Linked DNA regions of Homo sapiens: regions 2, 3, 4, 5, 6 and 7 are each linked to region 1. The links are contacts of gene promoters, found by promoter capture Hi-C in blood cells and fetal thymus (Javierre and others, 2016). All regions are on one chromosome and are shown on one strand. Each heading gives the region's core, a stretch centred on a gene start or on the middle of the fragment in contact. The rest is flanking DNA. Distances are from core to core; before and after follow the strand shown. Region 1 holds the start of ARL5B (ARF like GTPase 5B). Region 2 overlaps SPAG6 (sperm associated antigen 6). Region 3 has its middle 2.2 kb from the start of SPAG6. Region 4 holds the start of BMI1 (BMI1 proto-oncogene, polycomb ring finger). Region 5 holds the start of LOC100130992 (a long non-coding RNA gene). Region 6 holds the start of TRN-GTT2-3 (tRNA-Asn (anticodon GTT) 2-3). Region 7 has its middle 25 kb from the start of DNAJC1.

Region 1 (3,066 bases), core at 329-2,828:
CCACCCGCCTCAGCCTCCCAAAGTGCTGGGATTACAAGCATGAGCCCCAGCGCCCAGCCAAATGTCTGCATCTTCATACAAAAATGCTTTGTTCTTTTCAGAAATGGTTTCTTAGAAATCCGAAAGCCAGAAAAAAAAAAAAAAAGCAGAATGTGGTTTACATCCATGTCTAACAATTGAAGAAGCTGTTACGGAATCTAAAGTTTGTTTTGTGATAATGAAGCTAGGACTAAAAATGTCCTTTTAAGCCATTACTTACACAAACACAAAATTATTCACATTTATGGTCCAACTGATAGTCATGAAAGTTAAGTTTGCATAGGGTCAGTACATTCTTTTTCCTCTACATAGGAGGTTGAAACTTGCCTTTAATGTTGTAACGTTGGAGCATATTATCCTGCATCTAAGTCTTAAAGGGTCTTTAAACCATAGCACTGGGAGGACGTAAGTCATACATTCTCCTTGTACAGGTTAACTCAAGAGTTTGGCATGTTAAAAGGCCACGTTGCCAAGGTTAAAATCCAACCATCTGACTGAAGTCAGAGTCTAAAAAAATTTTAAGCTTGCTCCTCCGTCAACTGGTTTCAAGGACATTCAGTTTCGTTTCATGCCAGGCTGTGAAGCTTTTCTTTTCAATGCTAGAACCTAACCATGGAAAGTGGAATTGAAAACAATTACACAGCGAATTGGCTTATGCGTGGACTTCGATCTGGGATCCACGAACATACCTAATGCTTGGCAAAATGGAGAGGGGTGCTATGTGTTATTATTATGTGTTATTATTAATCACATAACTGAACTCTGTGGCTCCAGGCCTTCCATGGCTCGTCTCCCAATCAATTCTTTTCAGAACTAAGAATCACGACAGGGGCCGGGCGCGGTGGCTGAGCCTGCAATCCCACCACTTTGGGAAGTCGAGGCAGGAAGATCGCTTGAGCCCAGGAAATTGAGTCCCCCTGGGCAACACAGCCCGACCTCGTCTGCAATCGATCAATCAATCAATGAGTACATAAATGCATAAGCCAATGAATGAATACGTGAATGAATAGATTAATAAATGAATGAAGAAGAATCACGGCAGAACTCCTAACCCCTAGCACGCCTGCCTAGGGGAACAGGAATAAGTCAGGAAAGAAACACTCTTCACTTCTGTGAGTTTTCTAAGAGCAGCAAACGGCGGCTGCTCACTTAGAGAACCTATGGTCTTTCCTGGTTTTAGAGGTCAGGGAAGCAGCTGCTAGCAGCAGAGACTCAAATCAAAGGGGAGTCCCACAAACGTTTTGAAGGCTGACATCAGAAGGAGCACGCACCAAGGGAAATTTCCCACCCCCCCGCGATACCGCAAATTCCCAGCCGCTGGCCGTTTGGGACTCTCCTACCGGAAGTGAAACCGAAGAAAACGCCACGTCGAAGGCGTGGGTTGCCGTAAGTGCGCCGTCGTCACGCGCCTAGCTTCCGGCGATGGGTGGTCCTGGGATCCGGAGGGGAGGCGGGGTGGAGGCGGGGCTTGGGGCTGTGGAGAGGCTGTGGTAGGTAGGTGGGTACAGACCGAGGGGACTACGGGTCGGCGTTGGGCTCAGTGGGCTCGAAACAAAGGGCTGTCCGGTGGGGATTCGTCGCGGCGCCTTCTGAGTGGTCGGGTCGAGGCTTCTCGGCCTAGCAGTGCCCTCGCTGCGCGATCTCAGGCGGGTTCTCCTCGGCTCCGCGCAGCCCGCGCCGCGGTGGGGGACCCGGCGCAGCGGCACCTGCTGCCGAGGGACCCCGCGGCCCGCCCCGGTGCTCGTGATGGGGCTGATCTTCGCCAAACTGTGGAGCCTCTTCTGTAACCAAGGTGAGAAGAATGGAGCTGCGCGGCGGCTCGAATCCGAGGCAGAGGGTCCCGCCGCCGATGGGGACACCGGAGACAGGGGACAGAGCGTTCGGAGACGCGGAGGAGGAAGGGACTTAGGCCAGGGGGCGGGCAGAAACTCAGTGTTTTAGACCTGGAGGACGTACAGGAGAGACCTGACGTGTGGGAGAAATAGGGAGGCAGAAGAGAAGGTATTTGGCGTCCCAGAATCCAAACTGAGAATGTTTGGATATTGGCGAAGTAAAGCGGGATACAGCTAATGATGCCAGGAGGCGTATGGAGGGCCTTTCTCGTCTTTATTGAAGCGTGCTTGTGTCTATGTGTATCCCCAGGATAAGTGTCCGCCCAGAAACCTAGAACTTTTTTTTTTTTGAGTAATGTAGGTGCTTTGTTTTCCCGCCCTGCAGTTTGAGCCGTAAGCCAGTGCACTTTCACTCTGATTTCGCCTCCTTTCCTCTAGGACTTGGGAATGAGTTGTCCTATTCAGATGCACGAGTTTTCCAGCATCTTCATTGTAAACTTTTTTTTTTAAAGCATTTAGTTCAGAAACTAAATGCTTTTCGGTTTTGTGTAAGACGTTACGTGTCCGTAATTAGTCTGTAACAGGTAATGAGACACCTGGAAGTGGCAGGTCCAAAGGGCCGAGAAGTTGCAAAACCTGTTCTGAATCAGAATGAGATGTGATGTCTTCTGAAGAGAGAAAACACCCAGACCAAAAAAGGGGCCGACGATAAGTTAAAGTTTGAGGCGTCCTTTGAACAGAATGGTTTCTTAGTAATTGAAACCAGTTTTGAAAATCAACTCGTTTCATTTTACATTTAAGAGCCGGGCATCGTTAATAAGCCAGTTTTATTTCCTTTTATGTTGGTACCAATTTGTTACTGCTAATGTAGGTATCTAATCTTTTTCTGGATTTAAGAAGTTGTGGAGGTAATGGAATGGCTTTAGTTGACTTGTTCTGTAGATTGATAAGAACACTAAAGCAGTCTTTTTCAAGGTTATAAATATAGATACAGGCACACACATGTGTATATATATGTATATGCCTGTATCCAGTAACCACAGATAATATTACTTATCAAATGATTTCAAAGTGAGCAGAGCTTCACACTTTGTGGGTATTATCCATACATTTAAAATATTATTTTTATTTATTTATTTTTTGAGGCAGAGTCTTTCTCTGTCGCCCAGGCTTCAGTGCAGTGGCGCAATCTCAG
Region 2 (3,066 bases), core at 236-2,735, 3.7 Mb after region 1:
GGAGAAATCACAAAGGTCCCCTGGCCTACTGTGACCACTCCAGTAGCTGCTCTTACATGGTGATTTCCCGCCCTGAGTTCCTAGATGGGAAAGAAATAGAGAGAAAGCAAGCCTGTGTTGATTCTGAAGTATCTTTTTTCTGTGTATATTTTGACTAATCAATTTTTATTTCATTAAACTTTAAGTCCTCATTGTTTATTTCATCTAACATCTTTATTTGCTTGAGATTTTTCAAAATTAAAGTGCACTCAGCTAGTAATCATTACTAGCAAAGGGGGAATAATTAGGTTAGAATATTTCAAGTCCGACATTGTCTTTCACCATTCAGTGATTAATCTGCTTCATACTCACCCATTGTGATGGGGGGGTTTCAGTAGTTAGTTATGAACCAGCCCTAGGCTTAGAGTCTACATGAGGAATTTTGACATCCATTATAATAGGGATAAAAGTTGTGCCATCGATGCATGAAAAATTGAACCACAGAGTAAAGCTCCTCACAGTTTGTGCATTTGAACTAGCAGGTTTATTGTACTTGTATATTTCTTTAATAAATATAATAATTTCACTAAATGATAATTCAATTTCACCAGTTGTTTTTAGGTTCTAAATAGAGTGTGGCAATATTAAACTGTATTTAAAGACCATCATAGGGTCCTGGTGATCTAACTCTTGTTCCCATCGCTTAGCTTTCACAGCTGGTAGTTAACGCAGGAGGGGTTGCTGCCGTGATTGACTGCATTGGGTCCTGCAAAGGGAACACACGGCTGCCTGGCATCATGATGCTTGGTTATGTAGCAGCTCATTCTGAGAACCTAGCAATGGCAGTCATCATTTCTAAGGTTTGTTCTTGCTTCGTTTTCTTCCAGTTGCAGTAAGAAATTCTAAGACAGAACCACAGATTAATGTTCTCCAACAGAATACAAAATATAACTGACTGGAGCAAAAAAATTACCTGAAAAAAATTTTGATTGTTTCAATGCTTATTAGCAAGTTTTATTAGCAAGGTAATGGGAAGTTTAAAGTTTTACTCAGCGTTTCTCATCAACAGGATATCAACTATTTTGAGCATTAGTATTATCTGTATTTAAATATTAAGTTTATTTGTATCTTGAAGGATTAATTGTACATATCTACAAACATGTAAAGCTTACCTTGGTTAGAAACACCTATTTGTAAATGACATGCCCAGTAGTCATTTTCAGTATTCTGGGAGGTCTATATACCCCTCCATTTCCTGCCACTTCAGTGGGAGATGACAATGGCTAGGACATCCCTTTTTATCCACTTTCTCTTCTTCAGCTTTTATTAACTATTTCTCTTCTTAGATTTAGGCAATTCAGAGCACATGTCAGTGTTTTTGTTTCCTTGCTCTAGGGCTTTTGCTTTATCTCAGTTCACAATTTTGTAAGAACCCCTCATCTAGTGCAGCCCTGGCACATAGTAGGTGCTTACGAAATGTGTGCTAATGAATAAATATTGATCTCTGGACGAATGCTTCAAAGCCTGTGTGCTTACAGTGTGTGCGGTGACCCTCTGGGGTGTGGGTTTCTTATCAGCATAGAAAACCTGCTGCTGTATGTTAAACAGAAATGTGGATTTTTTTTATCCCTTACTAATCCTCAGAATAAAAAGGAGCCTCAGATCTTTATTTTCTACCTATTTCTTGATAATTCTTTGCTTTACTCCCTTTTATCCTGCTCTTTTCCTTTTGTTCTTCTACTACCACAGACTGTGATAGTGACTAGAGCAATAGTGGTGCTTTCTGAAGGGTCACGGTAAGGATGTTACTAGGTTTTTGATCCTTGGTTCTTTTGTGGATAGTCATGAAGCTTATGCATGGGAAGAATGATGAAAGAAGAAGCAATTGCCGTTGCTTCCCATATGCCTTCCTGAAATTAACCAGGGAGCTCTCCCCTTCTTTGGTCTAAGGTTGCTGCTGGCCTTTCCCACTTGGTTTGTTTTTCAGATAGAGATCAAGGTGTTGCTTGCTGAAACTCCAGCAGTTTCGGGCAAGCCACATAGTATGGTAGCACTCTCTGCTTTTCCTGTGTGGTACTATAAAGACTAACAATAATACTTTACATTTAAATAGTAATTTTAAAGCAAATTTGCATTCCTTATCTTATTTGTTATTCATTATAATTGAGGCCAACAAGTCAGAGCTTCAGGGATGGAGTAGAGGCACTGTCTCCTTTTCCTCCTGTTTCTTCAGTCTTGTTACATCCTGGACATGTGGGCTTTCTGGAAAGTTGCTTCATTCTGAAGACAGGTCTGACCTTTAATATTGGCAGACATACATTTTTAGTTGTAGGAAAGAAGCCAATGAAGAAATATAGCTGACCTCTTCAGGAAATTGGTCTTAATAACCAAATTAAAAAGCAAAGAATAAAAGTATATATGATGATTCTGGCCTTTGCTGTGGTAGCATAACCATGTGATCTTTTTTTGTGGTACCAAATTTAAGGTGATTACCATAATCTCAAATTAGTCAGAAAATTACACCTGTACAGAATTTGGAATTAGAATTTGATTTTTTAAAATTGTTCCTTGGGTATACAAAATGTAATGTATTTGAGGCTCTTTAGTTTATTCTGTTTTTATTGTTTAGATAAAATTGAAGCATAAGATGCAAAATGTAAGCATGTGCTGTGTAACAAAAGTAGTCGTTGTTTTGACATTCAGTCATGTTAAAGTGGAAAGAACTATAATTTAAAAGTTGACCATAATTGATGGAAAGTTATTTATGTACTGTTTCAGGAAAGGTGTTAGTGAATATATTCCGCTGACAAGGTACTTAGGATTCTTACTGATTTATTTTATTCTCAGGCTTATTATATCAGGTTTATTATATTTGGTGAAAAGACAATTTCTTTAAAGATTCTAAACTTTTTAACAAAGGAAAATAAATGATTTTAAAATTCTAAACATTTTTATTTAGTCACAGTAAAATCTGGCTTTGCCTATTTCCTAGTCTGTGACATCTGTTGTCTGGTTAAATACCTCTCTATTTGGGGGGTAAAAGCTAGTAGAGAAATTCTTGGTTTAGTTGAATCGTTACCGATAATT
Region 3 (3,066 bases), core at 285-2,784, 3.7 Mb after region 1:
TTGAAAGCCCCCATTTTTAGTATCAATCACTTTGCACTACATGGTGCCTTTTGGGGAAGCAAAATTATTCGTGTGTGGAATCCCCCAATCACGGGTTTCTTTGGAAGTGGAAAAGATTAGTTCCATCTCTTCATCCTCTGAATTACTGGAAAGGAAGACAGGTACAGGTATATATTTAGGAGTTTGGGGCCAGTTAAACCACTGTCATCTTGACATTGACCTTAATACTAAAAAGAAAAACTTTAAAATGCAAAGAGTTGACTTTAAAAGGTTTGAAAAGCGAAGAATAGGGAGTAAGGCATAAACACAAAACATGCATAGAAATTTCAATCTTCCCTTCCCGGATGGAAGTGTGCAAGTCTCTTCTGCTCTGCTGACAAACTTGATGAAATAACTGGGTGGTCGGCTCAGACCTAAAATCCTGACATTATTTCCCAAAAGAGGCGCGATGCACCATTTAAGATAGTCATGTTTACTTTCATCATTATAGGTAATATTTCTGTTCCACCAACTTGGTTATGGACTAAGTAATGCCTTTATTTTTAATTCCAGTATGTAACTATGAATTATTTTAGTAATTTTAAATTTAGTGTTTGCAAAATGATTAATGTAGTCTCATAACTTCAGTAATTACATGCAATTGCCCGTTGAATGCCTTCTTAAATGCTAACAATGATTTTGGGGAAAAAATTATTTTAGGGGAGGGAAATTTCATAGCTGCATAGAACTCAGCTAATTTTTATTAAAAACAAGAAGCCTTTTGTTATTTAAATGATGTTTTAGGTATTCTCACTTCTTCGCCTACTTTACCATAAGTCCCTCATCTTTGCCCCCAAAACACTAATAGCACTTAGAGCAATTACAGCCCTTAAAACAGTGGCAGACTGCAGTACATGCCCATTGAATGAATGCAGGCTGCGGTATATATGCTGGTAGAATGAAGTGATGTCTATCTGCTACTAGACTTCATGTCCTGGAAGAAAGGCACATTCTGTTATTAGCAAGGTGTTTGACACACATTAATAATGAATACGTGTTAGGCTTGATGCAGAATATATATAAACACTTGATTCAACTCAATGACAGTTTTAAAATGCAGATATTAATATCTAATTAGCATATATAAATCTTTAAATTTTAAAATTCAGCTAGGAACTGAAGAAAAAATACATGGGTGTTAAAATTAGCAAAGCTTCTTTTAGGTATGTATAGCATATATTCCCATGATAATAGGATTTTCTGAATTCTCAAAGGAGGTATGCAAAGAGAAACAACAAGATTTTAAAACTGGCTTTATTTTGTTGTCATTTTCAGTCTCATTTTCATAAATAAAGGAGGAAATATTTGAAAAAGTGATTTTGAAGTTACATATTATGATTAGCGTTTTACAAAAGTAGCCAAAGGCTTCCAAACAAACCTTTCATGGAAACACTTTTTTGCAAGTTGTTCAGCTAATGGTTCATTCTCAATCAAATGTATAGTCTTATGTGCCAGTTACATTGTATATCTCTAAAGTCAGCTGGTACTTTAAGAACAGTAATCTTCCTGTAATACTTTTTAAAATACCGAAGTATCCCTTTGAATTGTTTTCTTTTTCATTGCTTAACTGTTAGTTTAGAGGTGTGTATGTGATCATGGGACATTCATTTAACTTTAGAAAACAGAATAGTATTTTGTTTTAGAGTTAGTACATTGAAAAATGGGTCAGAAAATACAGATTGGTTTTCTTGTCAGTAAAAGTAATCTGCCATATTTTATGCTTGAATTACTAATAATTTCACTTATATGCATATTGTAATCACTCTGTGTTACATACATTTCTCCATTTAGTTTTTAAGATTTTTTTAAGAAGGAACCTAAAATAAAGAGCAAAGATCAAGCTTCTTTAATATGTCCAATTTCAGATATGAAGTAGGCATCCTATATTATGTTTTATCAGGAATAATACAATTTAACTAAAAGATATTGTTAATAACAGATACTCAGACTCTAAAGTAATTTACATAGCTTTTGAACGTATGTTTTCAAAGAACTTAGTAGCATCCCATACTGTGTTATGTTTATAGGTTTAGACCTCTCCCCCTCTATTGAGCTCTTAACACTTTTAAAATGGAAAACAAATAGTAAAGCAGTTGCTAAAAATGGCAGTTGGAGTAGCTTAAGAGTTTGAATTGTTTGTTTAAGGACTGAAACCAAATATAAAAACTTTTAAGGGGATTTTTTTTCATCATTCAACAAGGAACTGAAAATTACAAGGCTTATTTGCAATCTTAATTATTTACTCAATCTGTTTCCTCCCACGTCTCTAAATGGGAACGCATAACTTTAATTTTAAAGGACATATTCCCATAGGGAAATATAGATATCACTGTAAAACTTACGACTTTGAATTAAGTAAAAAGATTGTGGCCATCACTGGCTTTTGAGCTGCAGAAGCAGAAGACATGTACCTGCCCTTCGGGGGTATTAGGGACCCGACTAAACACACTTATTCTTCTCTCTGATTGCTGGACCATTCCCCAACTATTTGGAGCTCCACAAAGTATCAGGACTTCATCAAGAGCTCAGTGAAGGGTGAGATCTCAAAGATAAATATAGAGGACTCATTCCAAATATAGAACCAGTTAAGTTTGCATGCTCCCTTCTGTTGAAGAAATATCAAGGGGTTTCCTGTCTTGGCACTACTTAGCAGCAGCTGCGGCTATGTATCCACTTGACATCTGGTGAAATTGTAGTTTTTGATGGAGGAACATTTAAAGTTGACAACTGTCATTGAAACAACTGGTATATAGTTTTCAAAGACAAGCTAGAAACCAGTAATAGACTAAGTACTTCAATTTTGTTAAAAGAAACTGGGTAAAGGGTTCAAGTTATATAAGATAGGGAAGTCTGGTTTTCCAGGTAAAGGTTCTCTCTCTTTTTCTGTTGGAGATGTCATTCATCAACATAACGAAGCCTAAATTTAAAAGACTAAGACAAAATATTTACAAATCACATAAAAGTGAGGAAACAGCAAAATTAGTAGTCATTAGGAGAAAGCCAGGGAAGACAGGACATTCATCACAT
Region 4 (3,066 bases), core at 171-2,670, 3.7 Mb after region 1:
TTCTTAAAACCTAGAGTTAAAAGCTGTTGCGTGTTTGTTGTGTTATTTTAGACCAATCAACTTCATAGGATGTACAGACCTGCATATTTGGTGACCTTAAGTGTACAGGTATTTATAGATAAGTCTTATCCAATAATGAAATTTATAATTTCATTGATTTAAATAAACAGCGTTTCTTGTTGCGTGTTTTTTTTCCTGCCCTAGAACACTGATTCCCCATCCTATCCAGAGATTAGTTTTAGTTGCAGCATGGAACAATTACAGGTACAGTATTAGGATCTATAAATATTCCTGTCTTTTTATAAATGTTTACTTGAGAGTTATACTCTTGGGAAGTTCAAAAGAAAATTAATCTAACCATTTGTCAGCAGATAATGAAGATTGGTTAAGGATTTAATGGGAAAGGGGCATCAAAAGTAGTATTTTAAGATAGGCTTCACTTGAAATTAAGATGTTATTAATAGAGAATTGGTCTGTATTTGCTGTTCTTGCTGATTGAAATAAACTTCTGTAGTGTTTAGTGTAAATTTCTTCTATTCATGATGAGTTTGGTCCAATAAGATAAACAAAATTAAGAGCATGGCTTTGAAAATGTCTTTGCTTTCAGAAATTGAATTAAACTGTCAAAATTGGATTTTGAAACTTTTTAAATGACTTTATAAAGGGGGAAGTATACATAACATTCTAAAACTGTTTATATTGCCCATTTAAGACTGGGAAAATTCAAAACTACATTTATTAGTGGATATGACAACGAATTTATTTCATAGTTTTTAAAAAATGAAGCTCATTACTGGAAATTTAAGTGAAATTGAATTTTTCAAAGGCATCTTCTGCAGAGTCGTTTTAATGTAACTATGAATCAAACTTTCAACTTTCAGAAAATGTGTATACAGCATAACCTTTGTTAGATAACTTGAGAAAATTCAGATGTATCTGGGCGGTTAAGGATCCGGTTAGAAATCATGTTTCAGTGTGAGGGCAAATAACCGATTTGAACATGAGGTATTTCCGAGGAAACGCTTTTTTTGCCCGATAGTAGTTTGTCAAAAGTTAAAATCTTGTTGAATTTTAAACTTGTTTGGAAGGTGTGTCCTGATTTTTTTTCTTGCATCTTTCTTGAGCTTGGATACTTCTTTCCATGTTTTATCCTAAAAACGTGGTATTGTATACACGTCTTTTAGGACTTGGTGGGGAAACTTAAAGATGCTTCGAAAAGCCTGGAAAGAGCAACTCAGTTGTAACTTGGGGAAGTTAACGATCCGCCCGAGTGCAGAGGAAAACCAGAAACGCCTTGCCTTCAGCTGAACCACCGTTTGTGCGAGCTGGATGTCCTTTTCAGTAGAAAAGAATTTTCCTTTTGAATTTATACCATTCATCAATTTTGACACTTTAAAAACGTGTGAAAGGGTTAAGAGGGAAAGATACTGCCCAAGTATTTGAATCGTTTAGTAGTAACTGTCCATTTATCCTATTTTGATCTTTTTCAAGTCTTCTGAAAGGAAGTAGACAGTATTACACCCTGAATAAATAAGGTGTTGTTTTCCACAAAGAGTGATGATATTTTGTTTGGATCTGAGTTCGTGTGTTATTACTTTGTGTGAAGCTAGATAGGAGTAGTGTGAACTTTTAACGATAGCCTTTTCTCAGGATTAAAGTTAAACACGGAGGAAACGATGCGATCTCCTGGGTTTGTCGCAGACCCCTGCTTCGGGGCTCCGGGGGCGGGCGCGGGCGGCTGCCCGGCCCGTTACCTGCGCCCGAGGGCTCGCCCACAGCCCGACCCTCGGCCGCCCGGTCCCGGCCCGGCGCGGAGCCCCTGCCCGGAGCCAGCCGTCGCCCGCGCGCGCCCCGCCTCGGCCGCCCGCGGGCGGGGAAGAGGCCGGCGCGGCCGCGGGCTGGCGGGCAGGGGCGGGCGCTGTTGTTTCCGCGAGCCCAACTTGGGCGCAGGTTCCGCGCCGCGGCGCCGGAGCCTGGGCCGCAGCCCGCGGGGCCGGCCGGGGGGCGGCGGCCGCGGGACGTATGCGCCCCGGGAGGAGGCGGGCGGCCGGGAGAAAGAAAGAACGGGGGGCGGGGTGGGCTGCGCGGCGTGCGGGGCCGGAGCGGCGGCCGCGCGGAGCAGGGCGGCGCGTGTGGCGCTGTGGAGAAATGTCTCCGCCGCCGCGGCGCGGAGCGAGGGAGGGGGCCGGGCGCGCGGCGCGGAGGGGAGGGGGCGGCCACGGGCCTGACTACACCGACACTAATTCCCAGGCCGCCCTTAAGGAATGAGGGGAGCACGTGACCCGCTGGGGGGGCGGCGGGGGGAGGGGGCGGGCGGACTCCGAGCCATTTTGGAGCCGGTGTCAGTTTCCACTCTGCCTTCAGCGGTGCATTTTTTTCCACCCTCCCCTCCCCCTCCTCCCCTCCCCCCGCTCGCACGCACACACACGGCGCCCCCCGCCCGCCCGCCTCCCCCACAGCAACTATGAAATAATCGTAGTATGAGAGGCAGAGATCGGGGCGAGACAATGGGGATGTGGGCGCGGGAGCCCCGTTCCGGCTTAGCAGCACCTCCCAGCCCCGCAGAATAAAACCGATCGCGCCCCCTCCGCGCGCGCCCTCCCCCGAGTGCGGAGCGGGAGGAGGCGGCGGCGGCCGAGGAGGAGGAGGAGGAGGCCCCGGAGGAGGAGGCGTTGGAGGTCGAGGCGGAGGCGGAGGAGGAGGAGGCCGAGGCGCCGGAGGAGGCCGAGGCGCCGGAGCAGGAGGAGGCCGGCCGGAGGCGGCATGAGACGAGCGTGGCGGCCGCGGCTGCTCGGGGCCGCGCTGGTTGCCCATTGACAGCGGCGTCTGCAGCTCGCTTCAAGATGGCCGCTTGGCTCGCATTCATTTTCTGCTGAACGACTTTTAACTTTCATTGTCTTTTCCGCCCGCTTCGATCGCCTCGCGCCGGCTGCTCTTTCCGGGTACGTAGGAGGCGAGGCGCCCCCGGGACGGGGCTGGGGGCCGGCGGGGGCCGCGCGGGGCTCGGGGCGGCCGCGGGTGGAAGGGGAGCCCCCCCCGCGCCCCGGCCGCGCCGCCGGGAGGGCG
Region 5 (3,066 bases), core at 219-2,718, 3.6 Mb after region 1:
ATCTAATTTTATTTTTTTCTTATGAATGTTTGTTTTCTAAATAAGAGAAAATAAAGGAAGCTCAATTGCTCTTTATAATCCGTAAACCCCTTAACAACAGTCACTATGATTTATATTCATCCCATCAATACACTTCCTCAAAGTACTTTGAACATTACTGGTACATAATCTATATTTTTTGGAGAAGAGATACTTTTTTCCAGCCCCCATTGCTTAGACTATATACCAGTTGTCCACCTAAAATAATCTAAGTTGTGCTTAATTTATCCCCCTGAGCAGGAAATAGCATCTTAATAGGATTAACTTGGTATAAGCACTGAATAATTCCAATTAAACTGAAGGGTATTAATCACTTCCCTAACTTTGCCCATTTTTAGAAAGTTCTTCTGGAGAAAAATCTACCTACTCATCAAGTTAGATTCATTTATTTATCTACGAGGAGAAATGCATAACAAAGAAGTAGGAACCTGGACTAAAAACACATTTTAACCTATTTTATAAGACTTTTAAAAATCAACTGTTTGAGTCAAAGAACTACCTGTACGAACCTCAAGTTGATTGATGTTTTTTAAGGGTACCAGTTTACAGATTTAGGCTCTCAACAGGGCCTAGTTGCATTGGTTTAGTCCTTGCCAACACCTATTTACTTTCTCCTTTCTTTTATAAAGAAACAGTCTGAAATTAAGATATGTTTGTAACCTAATTTTAATCAAAGGCAATTAATGAAAACCAAGAAAGGAAATTTTTTAAGGAAACATTCTAAGATGTTTTTGAAGAATACTTCTCTAACACTTTTTGAAAAGAATCTCCTTACAAAATTTTGCTCTTTTCAAACAGTTCCAGGGGCATTAGCATCTCACAGGGATGAACACCTGTTTTGTTTGTTTGTTTGTTTGTTTTGGGGGGGTGGTTTTTGTTTTTGTTTTTTTGCTCGAGGATGGGGTTCTAACAGACCATGGTGAGAAGATAAAACTAACCAGAAGGTGTGAGAATAAACTGACAATTGTAAATAAAGTGAAATATAGTTGGTAAAAAAGAAAACACATAAAAACTTGGGAAGCAAAATCATTTTCTTTTCAAACACTGCATGTAAACTAATTTTTATTTATTTATTTATTTATCTATCTATCTATCTATTTATTTATTTATTTATTTATTTACCACGACTAAGGAGAGTCACTCAGATAGAAAAGATGTCATTGCTTCCAGCTTTTTACTGAGGGAAGCCCGTCACTTGAAATTGCTTCTATTAGCAGGTTCCCTAATAAAACCAAGGCAAATCCTGCACAGCCTCAAAAAAAAAAAAAAAGTTTCTACTACGATTCTGCAGTCAGTATCACCGTCTGTTTTATCTTTAATGTAGCAACGTATTTTTCATGGTTCCGCTTAACAGCGCTTAGAGACCTTGAACTTCAAAATCAGAATGCATCTTAGAGGAACTATCCCAGCACCACAATTTGGGGACGTGGGGACGTTGTGTATTCAAAAGCATTAATCTGTTTTGACTTCATCCTTTCTTTAAAAGGATCAAAAGTCAGCCATAAGTGTAAAAGAAAAACTAATTTTAAAAAAGTTTAGCCTTAAAAACATAACTATCTCAGCGCGTGGGGGTTCCCTCTGTTCAAAAGAAAACAAGAAAAAAAAAAGATGGACATTGCTGTCTTCTTTGCACGCTTCTCTTAAAATCCTCATTGGAAGCCCCCCTGGGAAAATGAGACTCCGATTTCTCACCTGTTTAAAATCACGCCACAGCAACGAATCACTGCAAAAGCAAGGTTCTAACTTAAAACAAAAAGAGAAAGTATTCGCTTCTGCGGAGAACCCGAGCCTCCTCCTGGGCGGGCGACGCTCGGCTGATGGGACCGGGCCGCGCAAGCCTCGGATGCAGCCGGGTGGGGGGCACCAGGCGCTAGGCGAAGGAGCGCAGGACCAAAGGAGATGCTTGGCTCCTAAGATAACACCTTTAAAAAGAAGAAGAAGAAAGAAAGAAAAACAAACAAACAAACTCGATACTTAGCCTCACGATCCTTGCCACCCCCTCCCTGCTCCGCCACCCACACACAAAATAAAGTGAGCCGGGCGGGGGAGTGCGCGCCCTGAAAGGGAACAAGAAGCAAGGCGCCTGTGACACAAAATGGAGAAAGAGGAACCGGGAGTGGAAAGGAAGAAGGAAAACCGAGTAAAGGAGGTTATTCATAAGAACAGGAAAGGGGCCGAGGGGTAGAGAACACCCGAAGGAAAGCGCAGGAGGCCCTCGTGAGAGGGCAAGGGGGAAAAGATCGACGAAGTAAGAGCGAAAAGAGGAAAGGAAAGAAAGACTTTCTAGATGCGGAGTCTCCATTTTCAGCAGCGCCATATTCGCTTTTCCTCTCGCCGCTTTTGGCTGGGTTTTGTGTGCGGCGGTGGACAGGCGCCAGCACATTTCTGCAGCTTCAGCAGCTCTGCTCAGACACCTGGGGAGGGCCGCAGGGCCCGGGCGGGGGACGCGCGCTCTTGGCCCAGGCCCGGGCGCGGCCCCCTCCCCGGCCTGGCGGTTCCTGCGCAGCGCCAGCCCCGCGCTCCTCTAGGCTGCAAAGGGGGCCTCCGACTCGGGCCCGGCCCGGAGGGGACACCTCACTCGGGGCCCCGCGGCAGCCCCCAGGGGACGCGGGCCCTCTAGTTTCGCCCACGGTGTGGCTGGGCATGCGTGCCAAGGGGATGCGTAACCGAGAACCGAAAAAGACGAACTTAACCTTCGGGGAGGAGGAGAGGGCGCACGCTGCGGGTACCGGGGCTTGGGGGCGCTCCTGGAGGTGACGGGGTCACCTCCACCTGCGCGGGGCCACTCTCTGGGAGCCGGCGATCGATGCCCGCCGCGGCGCCTGGCCCAGGCCCCCAGGCCTCTCGCGGCTCCCGGAAAAACGTCCGAGGTCGGGGCTCGGCCGGGAGCCCCAAGCGGGTCCCCTGGCCTCGGGACGCCAGTCCGGGAGGCGGCCGGAACTCCGGTTTTCGCGGTTCTCAGCGATATTAGGCGCGGCCAGTGTCTGAAAGCTCCTCGGGGTTACGTCCTGGGGCGACTGGAGGCGG
Region 6 (3,066 bases), core at 169-2,668, 3.6 Mb after region 1:
TTACATACTCAAATATACAACATAGCCTTTTAAATGCTATTCAGCCTTTAATTAAAGCTTTAAATGATCTTGACATATATCTAGGTTTGGCTGGTATTACAGAGCCCAGAAATTAAGGACAAAAAGATGCTCCTCAGAAATAGCATTTATTGCAACATCAACAACCATGACACGTTGAAATTTTATAAGGCCAATGCATCCATAAATATTTGTGCAATTCTTCCAAATTGTTGCCCACCTACCTTTTTTTTTTTCTTGAGACAGGGTCTCACTCTGTCACCCACGCTGGAGTGCAATGAAGTGATCACCATGCTGGGTTAATTTTTTATTTTGTGTAGAGATGCTGTCTCATTCTGTCGCCCAGGCTGGTCTCCAACTCCTGGGCTCAAGTAATCCTCCTGCCTTGGCCTCCTAAAGTGCTGAGACTACCGGTGTCAGCCACCCACACTGGGACCCACCTATCTTACCTGCCTGCAAGAGCCAAGGAAATGGCCTAAGCACTTGTCCACATAATCACAGCAACTGCTTCTGCTTACATTAGAGGGGAGTTTTGCACTCAGTGTGACACCTCCATTCCCATTTAATTCTCCTCCATTTTCTGGTCTCTAAATCATATTAATACCCAAAATAGGGTGAAATAGAATGTATTTAGAAATTTAAGATCAAATTTTAAACTGCCACCTAGGCCCCTGGTCAAGTACAAATTCTGGTACTATCTCACAAAAGTGTCCTGAAACAGGGGTCTACGTGGATGTGCCAATTCCCAAACATCAGCTTGGGGTCAAAGAATCCTTAGTCTCTAGACTCCATGGCCTGAATCTATCCTGAATCTGTCTCCTTCCAGATTTTGCCTGCCTCTCTCTCTCATCTTGCCTTCTGTACCTAAATGCTAACAAATTGTTTCCCTAAGACAGATTCCCCAGGAATACTTCCTATGCACACACAGCTTTCATTTGAATAAAATTGAGCAGCCCAATGAATGCATAATTTAACAATGCCCTTTAGCACGCCACAAATGTTGTGTTGGTTTTTATTTTACCCCCTTTACAAGATTTGGAGCAAAATATTAACGAAACTTCATAAAAACCAATTCAAGTATCTTTTGGTTTCAAATTAACTAATTAGGTAGCTGTATTTTAGAGGAAGGAACTTCCAAGAAGGCAGTACATCAGGGAGGAGCTTGGGCTTGGGCCTGACTACCCAGGTTCCAAACTCACTGTGACTTCCGGCAAATTACTCAGCTATTTACTCAGTCGCACTGTGCCTCAGTTGCCTCATCTGTACAATGGCAATAATAGGACCTGGAAGACTTATGAAGATTACATACCTTTCTCCACGAAAGCACTCAATAAAATAAGCCTTTATTAATATGTCAACTGAGCTGAAACATAACGAATATAAAACAATATATCCACAGGAATAAGATGTATTAGTTCTTACACTTTTCTTCAAAACTGTCTTTCAATTTTCTGTAGTCCAAGCCAAAACAATAATTATTATGATGAAACTATGATTATTTCTCAAAGTAATAAAATAGAAGGAAACTATTTTGAGAGGGCTTTGCATTTGGGGAAATAAAAGGTAGGGGACGTTGAAAGTAGAAAGTTGAAGCAAAGTATGGTAGCAGCTTCACATTCAATCTTTCTCATCATTCTTTTTTTTCAGGTTTAACAGTCATACTATTGTAAAAGAGGTTTTCTCCTTTTCCGCCTTGATGGGAAGTGTTGCAGGCTTATTCTATTCTCTACTAAATTCAAGCGTTTTAGTAGAAAAAGTAAAATATAATATATATTCTTACAATATTGTCCACACGAAAGATTTACTACACAAAAATTATTTCTGAAGGCATTAATACCAGGAACAATTAATGTTTAAGTCGCAAACGGAGATGTTTACGCTGACAGGGAACAGACAAAAGGGCGGCCATGCTTCAACAAAATGTAGGAGTTTTCAGTTTGCAGCTTGAACTTGACACTGTTGAAATACATGCATTTCGGTGGCCCCGTTACATTTCACGCGTCACGAAGCCGAGCAAGACCAGCCCGGGCCGCCTTCCCCGTGTACGCGCGGGCCTCCGGGGACGCGCAGAGCTGGAGCGGCGGGCGCGCGCGGCAAACGGGCCCGCGCGGCCTCTGCGCGTCCCCGCTCCAGCACCCTGGCGAGGCCTAGACCGCCGTGAAGACCCCGGGGAAGGAGTGGCCGCGCTCACCTGCAGCCGGGAGAGGACAGCGGGGGAGAGGAGGCCGCTCTGCACCGGCCGAAAGCGAAGGGCTCGCCGGCTGGCCGCGTAGTGTAAGGGTCGGTGGTTTCTTTGCTTGGTCCCTGGAAATCCACCCCTTCTTATCCCGGAGGCCTGAACTCGATTTCTGCAAAACTTCCCGCGACCAGCTCATAAAAGGAGAGCGCGTCCCTGGGTGGGCTCGAACCACCAACCTTTCGGTTAACAGCCGAACGCGCTAACCGATTGCGCCACAGAGACTTCGGTGTCATTTTCCCCTTCTGCCTCAGCCTTTATGAAGAATAATAAAGGCAGTGTGTGGCTGTTTCTGCTTTCTGATTGGTACTATCAGAACCAAAATATTTTACTTCACGTTTCCAACCCTCTTAATTCTATTTTCCACCTTTTAAGCATATCGCAAAATTATACAACAAAATCAAGCAGCATTGCAGATTGCAAAATGTATTAAAATACTGTTGCTCCCCCCCGCCAACTCCCATTTGGAACGTTGTATTTCAGGAAAATAACTATTTCTTATTAGTTTTCTTTTATGAGAAAATCAAAGCTTTCATCTTGTGAGCTGAGAAACTTTCCCTTTGTTTCGAACAATTTGCCCAGTGCTTCGTTCGCTCATCTCTCGTGATTTACTTGTGTAGTATTCCCAAGGTCATCTGAATTTTATTTGGCTGCTTTATTTTTATATTCAGGTATTACTAAATGCATAGATGAAATCCCTATTTGTTTTGTACTAAATACAGTACAATGATTTCACACTAACATTTTGTTACTGGAAAGAAACATCAGGGAAAAAAAGCTACAGGAACATTTCTTAGTTCCAGTGCGTTGTA
Region 7 (3,066 bases), core at 226-2,725, 3.4 Mb after region 1:
TTCTCACAATTTTTTGTTAAAAATGGGATGTTTTAAATTATATAATGTGACAAATATGGAAATCAGATTTCCCTTCAATTCTCAGGGTTTGTTTTTGCTATTTGTTTTTTAGTGAGTTTCCTGAATTCATTCTCCAAAGTATGATTTTTTTTTCATGTGTGACCACTGATATCTCTTCTTGGTTATCTTAATGGGCAGTTAATGACTGTACAGAGATTTCCTTAAACTCTTGGAACCAACAAGCCTGCCAGCCTTTGCTGAGGGGTGTTGTGTGCATATTGGGATTTGCCTCCAATGTTCAGACAGGCAGTTTACAATTCTGCTTCAAATTTCACTTTCTGCTTGCACAGAGACTGATAGTTAGCCAGAGGCGAGGGTTTAGGACCATCTCAGCAATTTCCTGGGCATGCGCATGCACACAGCCCTGTGCATATGTGTAGCCTTCTAGTTTCCCAGGAATATATCAGAGCTTTTCAAAGCTTATTATTAATATCTTATTCTCCCGCATTTCCTTTTAAGTTTTTGGTCAGCTTGTTGTTTGTCCTAGCTGTTATCATCACAAGCCTCGTGCAGCTGTAATGTTAAATAATTGCCACTAATTGTTTTTGACAAATACCTTTGGGTAAAATGCTGTTCATGGTGAGTGCTCCCTGAGTCGGGTCGAATAAAGACAAGTCTTATGAGTGAGATTTTCCAGGAACCTGCCAGACAGGTCACGTAATGACCATTATCTAGGAATGGGGCTTCAACATTCTGTTCCCTCCAGTGGCTTCTAGATTGTTAGCTTTCACCATGATTGCAGTTCTCTTTGTTTTCAAGGCTACTCTAGAGCTGGGGAGAGGAGCATGAGGACAGAGTAGGTTAAAATGCCATCAAGCCTCCTGTTCTTACCAGGATTCAGCCATTTTTCTTGCCTAAGCACTCAAATTTTTGCAAGCCTTTGGTTAATTTTCAGAGTTATGAAAAGTTGAATTTGACAGTTGTTTTTTTTTTTTTGCCAGTGTTCTTGTTGCTTTTATGGAGAAATAAATTTTCAGAGGTTCTTACTCTGCCATCCTTGAACTATTGTCCAGGTCCCAGTATTATTTTTTTAACTTTTTATTTTGACAAAATTATGAAATCACCTGCAGTTGTAGGAAGTAATACAAAGAAATCTCATATACCTTTTACTCAGTTTCTTTTCATGGTAACAGCTTGCATAACTAGAGTACAATATCCTAACCAGAAAACTTATACTGCTGCAAACTATTGACTTTATTCAGTTGTTACCAGATTTGCATACATTCACTTGTGTATGTGTGGTGTGTGTGTGTGTGTGTGTGTATGCATAAGTAGGTGTGTTTAGTTCTATGCAATTTTACCACGGTTAAGTTACATAATGGTTCTATCACAACGATCCTTCATGTTATTCTTTATTCCTTCATAGCCAGTCATGTCAACTCTTCCCCAAACCACCACTCCTAACATCTGTTCTCTAAGTCTATAATGTCATCTCAAGAGTGTCATGGAGTATATCATTCAATGAAATATCATTTGGCAATTAAAAGACAGTACTGACACATGGCACAACATGGATGAACCTTGAAAATATGCCACGTGAAAGAAGCCAAGCACAAAGGATCACACAACGGATGACTCCATTTCTTTTTGAAATGTCCAGAATAGACAAATCTGTAGAGACAGAAAGGAGATTAGTAGTTGCCATGGGCTGGGTGGGATGGGGGGAATTTTTGGTGATGGCTAAGTGATCTAGAAGGGAGGGCTTAATAAAAATGTCCTAAGATTGATTGTGGTGATGGTTGCACCTCTGTGAATATACTAAAAGCCATTGAATTGTACACTTTAAATGGGTGAATTACATGGCACGTGAACTATATCTCAATAAAGGTGTTTTTTAAAAAAAGAATGCAATGGAAATAGAGTCAGACAATAGGTGACTCTCTGAGACTGGTCCTATCATTTTAAAGCAAAAGTTTGGTCCCAGAGAAAGTATCTGTTGCAGATGTAGTAGATACATAATAATACAGTACAGAAAAGTTAGATATGAGCTATCATAGTTGAGTGTGGTAAGAGGTCACTTGGCATGGTCAGAAGGAAGGGGAGAACCTGCCAGCTCTCAGAGGAGTCTAGGTGGGATTACCATGCACATATAAATACAATCCAGGTGGGTCTCTTTTCAAGTCTACTCCAAGGATGAGATTTCTCAACTCTTTCTGGAACTGGACCCAAATGGGATGGATGAAAATAAGCTGTTTCAGCTCAATTCAGATAAGGCTTTTATTGGAAGAGAAAGCCAACAACGATAGAAATTTACACATACACTGAGGTTCACCGCCTCAGCTGCTTCTAGATTCACAGATAAAAACCATAGAGCAGAGTTCCTTTCTGTACTTGGCACAGAGATTAAACACCCTCATATGTGGCTCTTATCTTGTTTTGTACTTTTACTTCCCTCCGCACTAGATCATTACAAAGCTTTCTACTGGGAGAGACACGTTTCTAGACCTTATGTAATTATTTTCTGGTAGAAATGGAGTGACTCATTCAACTATAGAACGCTGTCCCTTGATCAGTGTTATCGTGGTTACTCACCATCGATCAGCATTCAGTAGAAGTAAGCTTGATTGCAATTAGCCTTTGTAGATCAGTGCATGATATAGTTTCAAAGCTAGAAATTTGAGAATTGAACATTTTCAAAAAGAGCTCCTAAAGGCAAATCCTTTAATAATTTCAAAATATCAAGAACTCACAATTTTCTGAGATAGATAGCTTATATGAATGGTCTCTATTTGAGAGAGAGAGAGAGAGGTAAAAGGTTATTTGCCGTTACTCTGACACTGGGTTCCTGCCCATTGTGTATTGCACTTTCACAGTAGAACAAAACTGCAAGAGTAATTAATCCTTAACTGGCTAAATAAACTCTCTCTCACAGAGCATTACCTTCTCTGACTTTAGAGATATTAACTACCGTAGAAATGTTTCACAAACGTGGTATTTCATGAACGTTAGAACAGAGTTCATTCTCTAAACCAGGGTTGGCAAACGTTTTCTGTAAAGGGCTAGATA

Evidence for each region. Contacts are between HindIII fragments. The CHiCAGO score rates a contact against its expected background, and 5 or more counts as called.
Region 2: a contact is called between a fragment that was not itself captured here and the fragment with the promoter of ARL5B in region 1, in 1 of 17 cell types (total CD4 T cells). The highest score is 5.5, in total CD4 T cells.
Region 3: a fragment that was not itself captured here is called in contact with the fragment with the promoter of ARL5B in region 1 in 8 of 17 cell types (total B cells, non-activated CD4 T cells, total CD4 T cells and 5 more); the score reaches 14.3 in total B cells.
Region 4: a contact is called between a fragment that was not itself captured here and the fragment with the promoter of ARL5B in region 1, in 4 of 17 cell types (fetal thymus, total CD8 T cells, monocytes and 1 more). The highest score is 9.5, in fetal thymus.
Region 5: a fragment that was not itself captured here is called in contact with the fragment with the promoter of ARL5B in region 1 in 1 of 17 cell types (naive B cells); the score reaches 5.1 in naive B cells.
Region 6: a fragment that was not itself captured here is called in contact with the fragment with the promoter of ARL5B in region 1 in 3 of 17 cell types (monocytes, total B cells and total CD4 T cells); the score reaches 7.9 in monocytes.
Region 7: a contact is called between a fragment that was not itself captured here and the fragment with the promoter of ARL5B in region 1, in 2 of 17 cell types (activated CD4 T cells and non-activated CD4 T cells). The highest score is 8.5, in activated CD4 T cells.

What each region holds. Positions count from the first base shown.
Region 1 is chr10:18,657,853-18,660,918 of GRCh38, forward strand. ARL5B (ARF like GTPase 5B) reads left to right here and starts at 1,579. Exons shown (of 6, transcript NM_178815.5): 1 at 1,579-1,831. The coding sequence starts at 1,786. It also overlaps a transcript of NSUN6 not described here. RefSeq lists enhancers at 408-527, 1,228-1,357 and a silencer at 1,668-1,747. The HindIII fragment of the contact is 6,724 bases long and covers 622-3,066 here.
Region 2 is chr10:22,388,474-22,391,539 of GRCh38, forward strand. It overlaps SPAG6 (sperm associated antigen 6), which reads left to right. Exons shown (of 11, transcript NM_012443.4): 7 at 687-839. Among named protein-coding and RNA genes, the nearest start is that of SPAG6, 45 kb to the left of the region's middle. The HindIII fragment of the contact is 683 bases long and covers 1,145-1,827 here.
Region 3 is chr10:22,341,766-22,344,831 of GRCh38, forward strand. No RefSeq gene overlaps it. Among named protein-coding and RNA genes, the nearest start is that of SPAG6, 2.2 kb to the right of the region's middle. The HindIII fragment of the contact is 688 bases long and covers 1,191-1,878 here.
Region 4 is chr10:22,318,755-22,321,820 of GRCh38, forward strand. COMMD3-BMI1 (COMMD3-BMI1 readthrough) reads left to right here. Exons shown (of 14, transcript NM_001204062.2): 5 at 205-264. COMMD3 (COMM domain containing 3) reads left to right here. Exons shown (of 8, transcript NM_012071.4): 6 at 52-108; 7 at 205-264; 8 at 1,185-1,552. The coding sequence ends at 1,244. It overlaps BMI1 (BMI1 proto-oncogene, polycomb ring finger), which reads left to right and starts at 2,345. Exons shown (of 10, transcript NM_005180.9): 1 at 2,345-2,942. RefSeq lists silencers at 1,830-2,089, 2,150-2,319, 2,510-2,709. The HindIII fragment of the contact is 6,481 bases long and covers 1-3,066 here.
Region 5 is chr10:22,249,973-22,253,038 of GRCh38, forward strand. LOC105376447 (a long non-coding RNA gene) reads right to left here. Exons shown (of 2, transcript XR_001747390.3): 2 at 1-1,961. It overlaps LOC100130992 (a long non-coding RNA gene), which reads left to right and starts at 2,100. Exons shown (of 1, transcript NR_038921.1): 1 at 2,100-3,066. RefSeq lists an enhancer at 1,404-1,483 and a silencer at 2,434-2,953. The HindIII fragment of the contact is 5,966 bases long and covers 1-3,066 here.
Region 6 is chr10:22,227,104-22,230,169 of GRCh38, forward strand. It overlaps TRN-GTT2-3 (tRNA-Asn (anticodon GTT) 2-3), which reads right to left and starts at 2,479; the gene lies at 2,406-2,479. RefSeq lists a silencer at 1,931-2,180. The HindIII fragment of the contact is 2,726 bases long and covers 56-2,781 here.
Region 7 is chr10:22,027,169-22,030,234 of GRCh38, forward strand. No RefSeq gene overlaps it. Among named protein-coding and RNA genes, the nearest start is that of DNAJC1, 25 kb to the left of the region's middle. The HindIII fragment of the contact is 1,996 bases long and covers 478-2,473 here.